2 separate regions of the Homo sapiens genome follow, and region 2 is linked to region 1. Evidence: promoter capture Hi-C in human tissues and cell types (Jung and others, 2019). All regions are on one chromosome and are shown on one strand. The core of a region is centred on a gene start or on the middle of the fragment in contact, and the rest is flanking DNA. Distances in the headings are between cores, read along the strand shown. Region 1 holds the start of PLEKHM3 (pleckstrin homology domain containing M3). Region 2 has its middle 32 kb from the start of FZD5.

Region 1 (3,692 bases), core at 440-2,939:
TGGATTACAGGCACGAGCTACCACACCCGGCCTTTTTTTTTTTTTTTTTTAGAGTGAAAGTTTATTAAAAAGCTTTAGAGTAGTAATGAAGGGAAGGAAAAGAAGAAAAGAACACTTGGAAGAAGACCAAGCAAGTGACTTGAGAGACCAAGCACCTGTTACCTGCTTCTTAAAGAGCAAAGAGAAATTAGCCAGCCTAAGTAAGAGGATGGGCCAGGAGTGAGAACTCTCATCAGAGGGAATCACATGTACAAAGTCCTGAGGCAAAAGAGAATACTGCAAATATTCTCTTTTGGTAATTAAAACAAAACAAAACAAAAAATGTACCTCTGGCCAGGTGAGGTGGCTCACACCTGTAATCCCAGCACTTTGGAAGGCAAGGAAGAAGGATTGCCTGAGGCCAGGAGTTCAGGATCATCCTGGGCAACACAGGGAGACCTTGCCTTTACAAAAAAAAAAAAAAGAGAAAGAAAGAAAAAAGAAGTTAGCCACGTTGTGGTGATGCGTGCCTGTAGTCCTAGCTACTCAGGAGGCTGAGTTGGGGGGATCCCTTGAACCCAGGAGTTCAGGGCTGCAGTGAGCTATGATCGTGCGACTGCACTCTGGCCGGGGCACAGAGTGAGATCCTGTCTCTAGCAAAACAGAAAAAAAAGTACCTCAAATTGCAGGGTTTAAAGAAAGCTTATTTAAACTTTGAATATCAACCAAAGGAAATTTTTTCTTAACTCAAAGCTTAAAGATTTGCTTATTAATCTTCTGGAGGGTGGGAAGGTGGGAAGAGGAATCAGAGTTTTAGATTTCTGTTTCATCCCTGACCCCTTTGACCTTTTTTTTTTTTTATCATTCCTTTGTTCATTCATTTATTCAGATATATATACATTGGGCCTGTGCTAGGTGCCTACTAGATGGTGGTGAGTGAAACTGAAATAGTGCCTGCCCTCAGGGAGTTTATAGGTGAGATGGGTGAGCGTGGGAAAACCAATAAAACTGATAAATAAGTGTGTACTTATAAAGTGAGAAAATGGCTAAGAAGTGTGCTATGATGGAAAACAGACAGGAAACTGCAAGGAAGGTCTGTCCAATCAGACCAGCATATCCCTGCAAAGCGACCACAGTCACTGCAGGTGGGATGTGGGCGGTCTTACCAGGCAGTCCTGCCCGCGTGCACACACACGCACACCCTATTTTGCTGGGAATCCGCAAGTGGGGGTGAAGACCTCACCTCAAAACCACCCCTTTTCAACCTGCGTAGGAAAGGACAGTGAAAACGGATTTTCACTGCAGCCCCAAAACCGGAAATGAGAAGCAATCTCCAGAATAGTCCCACTTTTGGAAAGAACTTATTTGAGTAATTAATTCCCTTAGACAAGGGAGCTGCTAAAAACCAGCCCGATCCTGACATGTTCTAAGTGACATTTTCCAATCGCAAACACCCATTTTGGCGTTGGGTGGAGCAGTGAGGAGACTCCACGACACACGCCATTGCTTTCACAATGTGTACAAGAGGAACTGTATATAAGAAAGCAAAGAAATAAGGAGGCCTGGCGGGTGCGGTCAGGCCTTGCCTAGCTGCCGGGTCCCTCGGGCAGGAAAGACTCGTCCTCGCGGCCTGGAACCTTGTGTGTCCGGCTCTGGCTGCCCGGGCCGCCGGCGGAAGCATTTCAGAGTGGGACCGCGAGAAGCCGCTTGTAAACAGAGCCGGGCCGGGATGGTCAGCGCCCGGGCGGGCTGTCACCGTGAGGCGGGCGGCAGGCTGCGGGAGTCAAGCCCCTCCAGGAGCGGACTGAAGGCCCCGCAGGTGAATGGAGAGTAGCAGCCGGGGCCCAGGTGAGCATCCGTCTGCTTCTGTGCTGCCTGGCCGGCCAGTTTGGGGGATGGGGTGGGGACGACTGCATTGTAAATATCCGAGCAGCTCCCAGGGATAGCAGTGATTTTGCTGTTTCTTGCATGCTCAGGTTTTTATTACGTGCTGGAGATTGTACCACACTGCAATGGCTAATGGGTGAGGGGAGATTACATGATGCATTGTCTGCTTATTTTTGTGAATCAGGTATGTAATAGGAGGAGAAAGTAGTTGAAATAGTAGGTGATCTTGTTGAGTGCGTTATTAGTATCCCTGCCATCCCCGCCTGGGGATTATAAAACCAAACCCCAGCAGAGCTTTTAACCTACATCAGGCTGGGGCTTCCAGAAAACGATTGTTCTTTCTGTCGACTCTGTCCGTTTTTAATGTATAGTAAATGACACCACATGACTGATGACAAGCATGGTTTGGTCTTGTAGGAAAGAATTATTAAGCTAAAAAATCAAGATAAGAAAATCTCACACTCATCCCTTAAACAAAAATAAATTACTACTGAGATATATATTTGGATGACAAATTGAGACTGGTCTGGATGTATACCTTGCAAAGCAAGACAAATTTGAATTTACCAGGTTAAACTGAGATTGAGCCATGCTGTTGTAAACTTATTTAGAAGTTTATTTCTCTCTTCTTTTTTCTTCCTTGGAAGGGACCAGAGAGAAACAGCTGAATTTTTTTCTCTATATTTTAAGTAATCGTAGTGAGTTGTGATTTGTATTTATAAAGTATTTTATTATAAAATACTACATGTAAATTATAATTGGCATACTTAAAATACAAGGCAGTTTTTGACTGACTGACTTCAAGAAAATGCCTTAACAAAAGCTGGGCTATATATCTAGTCTCTAAAAATATCAGTAGACATTTGTAACCTTGGTCACATAGTCTTTTAGACAGGAGATGAATATTAGGTTAAATTGCACCTACAATAGATAGATATACATAGAAGAAATGATACTAATTCCTGATGAGTTTTTCTTTACAATGAATATTTTTACAATGTCATGGTTTATAGCAAAAACTATAAAGCCAGACTACTTCAGTTTGAATTCCTGCTTGGTCACTTCCTAGTTGTGTAATCTTGGGCAGTTTACTTAGCGCTTCTGTTTCCTAATCTGTAGAATGGGAATAATAATAGTATTGACCTCATTAGGGTTTTTATTATTGTTATTTTATTTTATTTTATTTTATTTTATTTTATTTTATTTTGAGACAGGGTCTTACTCTGTCATTCGGGCTGGAGTACAGTGGCGTGATCATGGCTCACTGCAGTCTCGACTTCCTGGACTCAAGCGATCCTTCCACCTCAGCCTCCCTTGTGGCTGGAACCATAGGCACAAGCCACCACGCCTGGCTAATTTTTGTACATTTGGTAGAGACAGGGTTTCGCCATGTTGCCCAGGCTGGTCTTGAACTCCTGAGCTCAAGGCTTAGAACCGTACCTGGCATATAGTAATTGCTATATACATGTTTGTTAATAAATATATAAAATAAAAATATGCCAGTGTTGAAAGTGGAATGGTGATTACCAGGGCCTGGAGGGAGGCAGGCAATGGGGATTTGTTGTTTAATGCTGCGGTCCCCTGGTGGTTTTTGGCACCAGGGACCGGAAGACCATTTTTCCACAGAGCGGGTGGTGTGGGGTCGGGGAGTAGGGGGGTGATAGTTACGGGATGAAACTGTTCCACCTCAGATCATTAGGCATTAGTTAGATTCTCATAAGGAGCGTGCAACCTAGATCCCTCGCACGCACAGTTCACAATAAGGTTTGCGCTCCTATGAGAATCTAATGCTGCTGCCGATCTGACAGGAGGCGGAGCTCAAACAG
Region 2 (3,692 bases), core at 620-3,119, 220 kb after region 1:
TGTAGTCCCAGCTGCTCGGGAGGCTGAGGCGGGAGAATGGCGTGAACCCGGGAGGCAGAGCTTGCAGTGAGCCAAGATCCCGCCACTGCACTCCAGCCTGGGGGACAGAGCGAGACTCAGTCTCAAAAAACAAAAAACAAAAACAAAAAAAAGAAAACAGAACTTAAATTGCCAAAAATATGTGAAAAATACAATGGAATATTTTGCAGTACATAGTTAAAAAGTTAACATAGAATTACCACATGATCCAGCAATTCCACTTCTGAGTATATACCCTAAAGAATTAAAAGCAGGGACTCAGTTATTTGCACACCAATGCTTATAGCAGCATTACTCGCGCTAGCCAAAAGACAGAAATAACCCAAATGGGCTGGGCGCGGTGGCTCACGCCCGTAATCCCAGCACTTTGGGAGGCCGAGGCAGGCGGATCACCAGAGGTCGGGAGTTCGAGATCACCCTGACCAACATGGAGAAACCCGTCTCTACTAAAAATACAAAAAAATTAGCCAGGCGTGGTGGCACATGCCTGTAATTCCAGCTACTGGGGAGGCTGAGGCAGGAGAATCGCTTGAACCCACGAGGCAGAGGTTGCGGTGAGCCGAGATCGTGCCATTGCAGTCCAACCTGGGCAACAAGAGCACAAAACTCTGTCTCAAAAAAAAAAAAGAAATAACCCAAATGTTCATCAACAGATGAATGGATAAACAAAATATGGTGTATATATATTATGTATGCATATATGTATGTTGTGTATATATTATGCATACATATATGTATGTTGTGTATATATTATGCATACATATATGTATGATGTGTATACATTATACATCATATATAATTATAATATATATATATTATTCAGCCTTAAAAAGGAATGAAATTTGGACATATGCTACAATAGGAATGAACCTTGAAGACATTATGCTAAACTAAGCTAGACACAAAAAAACAAATACTGTAGGTTTCCAGTTATATGAGGTACCTAGAGTAGTCAAATTCACAGAGATGTAATAGAAAGTGAGTGGTGATTGCCAGGGGTGGGGAGGGGAAATGGGGATTCCACGTTTAATGAGTACAGAGTTCAGTATGGGATGACGAAAACGTTCTGGAAGTGCTGATGACGACGGTTGCACAGCAGTGTGAATGTACTTAGCCACTGAACTATCACCTAACAATGGTTAAACGGTCAATTTACTGTTATGCTTTGTTTTATCCTACCACATTAAAAAGAAATATTTTCAAACTTGGATTCCAAAAGAACTGTCATTTTTCCTACCTTTAATTACACTTGAGGAATATTCTTTCTTCCTTCTCATCATTGAACTTCTTCCTTGTGCCTTTTCTATGAAAAATACAAGGGAGCTGGGGCTCAGTGGCTCATGCCTGTAATCTCAGCACTTTGGGAGGCTGAGGCGGGTGGGTCACCTGAGGTCAAGAGTTCGAAACCAGCCTGGCCAAAATGGTGAAACACTGTCTCTACTAAAAATACAAAAAATTAGCCAGGGGTGTGGTACATGCCTGTAATCCCAGCTACTTGGGAGGCTGAGGCAGGAGAATTGCTTGAACCTGGAAGGTGGAGGTTGCAGTGAGACGAGATTGCGCCATTGAACTCCAGCCTGGGCAACAAGAGTGAAGCTCCGTCTCAAAAAAAAAAAAAAAAACAACCAAGTGAGGCCGGGCGTGGTGACTCACACCTGTAATCCCAACACTTTGGGAGGCTGAGGCAGGTGGATCATCTGAGGTCGGGGGGCTCGAGACCAGCCTGGCCAACATGGTGAAGCCCTGTCTCTACTAAAAATACAAAAATTAGCCTAGCGTTTTGGTGCCTGCCTGTAACCCCAGTTACTCAGGAGGCTGAGGCAGGAGAATCACTTGAACCCAGGAGGTGGAGGTTGCAATGAGCCGAGATGGTGCCATTGCACTCCATCCTGGGCAACAGAGCGAGACTTTGTCTCAAAAAAAAAAGAGAGAGGAGAGAAAATGGAAGTGGGGAAAGAAGAAAAGAAAGAAAAGACCACTGCTCAAAGATGGGGCAGAAGGACACCTGAAACAGGAAGCAGAGATGCCTTGGCATTTAAATGAAAAAACCTAAAGATCGCTGATCCCATGTGATGGGCAGGCAGAACTTTGCATCCTCTGGGACAAAATGGGAAGAGTTTTCCAGTTGTGGGCATCTCTCATTTCTGAATAAGAGAAAAATGGGCTAGAGAGAAGAGGGGGTGGATATGAAGGGAGGCAAACTGACAACGCAGGACAGGACAGGACATCGCTTGAGTGGCGTTCAGGCCAAATAAAGAAATAAAAATAAAAACTTGCCTAATGCTTTTTTGGTTTTCCTGCTGCTTTACAAACACCAACTAATGAATTCACCTGTCTGGGACAGCCCCTCTAGAGGGAGGTAAATAGTTACAGGCTCTTAGACCCTATCTGCTAAGTAAACGAGCCACACAATGGACTAGAAGTTCCACGGCTTGTGTGGTGAGAGGTTGCAGAAAATTAGTTAATTGCATCATGTCTGCAGCTGATAAAGCAGGTCTAGTGGGTGGCATATTTTACAGTGACACAGTTTCAGGTGGAAGCTGAAAATTCAAATCGCTGCTTCTCTAAGAGATTTGAGGCTCCAGGATCTAATCCTGTTAAAACTTAGGCTCCAAATGAAGAGAAACCTGAGGAACTGGGGTTGGTGGGGGGCGGGGTGGGGGAGCAGAGCTTCCTGTTAAAGGCAGGAGCTAATGCAACCATTATCCTGGATGTTTAATTCAAAAGGCAACACAGATGCATGCACAAGAATCTGTTTTGTCTCACTCTATATCCAGAGGTCCTCCAGCAATGACCCTTCCCCCATTATATGTACACTCCTCCCTTCCAATGTGCTTAATCATTTCTTTTAACTTTTTATTATAGAAAATTTCAAAAACACATGTGAACTCCCCACCCCATGTACCTGTCACCAGCCTCAACAACTATCAACTCATGGTGAATCTTGTTTCATCTAAACCAGTGTTTCTCAAGCTTGAGTGTGTATCAGAATCAGCTGGGGGGAGCTTGTTGAAACACAGATCGCTGGACCCCATCTCAGATTTTTTTTTTTTTTTTTTTTTGAGATAAGAGTCTTGCTCCGTCACCCAGGCTGGAGTGCAATGGCATGATCTTGGCTCACTGCAACCTCTACCTCCCAGGTTCAAGCGATTATCCTGCCTCAGCCTCCCCAGTAGCTGGGATTTACAGGCACGTGCCACCACGCCCGGTAATATTTTTTTTTTTTTTTTTTTTTTTGAGACAGGGTCTCTCTCTGTCACCAGGCTGGAGTGTAGTGGCACAATCTCGGCTCACTGCAACCTCTGCCTCCTGGGTTCAAGTGATTCTCCTGCCTCAGCCTCCCTAGTAGCTGGGACTACAGGCATGCACCACCACGCCCAGCTAATTTTGTACTTTTAGTAGAGACGGGGTTTCGCCATGTTGGTCAGGCTGGTCTAGAACTCCTGACCTCAGATGATCTGCCCGCCTCGGCTTCCCAGAGTATCGGGATTACAGGTGTGAGCCACTGTGCTTAGCCCCTTCTCAGGATTTCTGATCCACTAGGTCTGAGGTGGGACCTGAGAACTTGCATTTCAGACAAGTTCCCAGGTGATGCTGATGCTGCCCTTTGGCAACCACTTTGAGAACCACTGATCTGTATGCCTAGTCACTTT

Evidence for each region. The method cuts DNA at HindIII sites, captures the fragments that hold promoters and counts their contacts. A contact is called where the count stands out against the background at its distance.
Region 2: a contact is called between a fragment that was not itself captured here and the fragment with the promoter of PLEKHM3 in region 1, in 1 of the 25 tissues and cell types used here (H1 embryonic stem cells).

The regions. Positions count from the first base shown.
Region 1 is chr2:208,023,524-208,027,215 of GRCh38, reverse strand. It overlaps PLEKHM3 (pleckstrin homology domain containing M3), which reads left to right and starts at 1,689. Exons shown (of 8, transcript NM_001080475.3): 1 at 1,689-1,827. The HindIII fragment of the contact is 4,894 bases long and covers 378-3,692 here.
Region 2 is chr2:207,800,256-207,803,947 of GRCh38, reverse strand. No RefSeq gene overlaps it. Among named protein-coding and RNA genes, the nearest start is that of FZD5, 32 kb to the right of the region's middle. RefSeq lists enhancers at 1,252-1,751, 1,752-2,253. The HindIII fragment of the contact is 9,526 bases long and covers 1-3,692 here.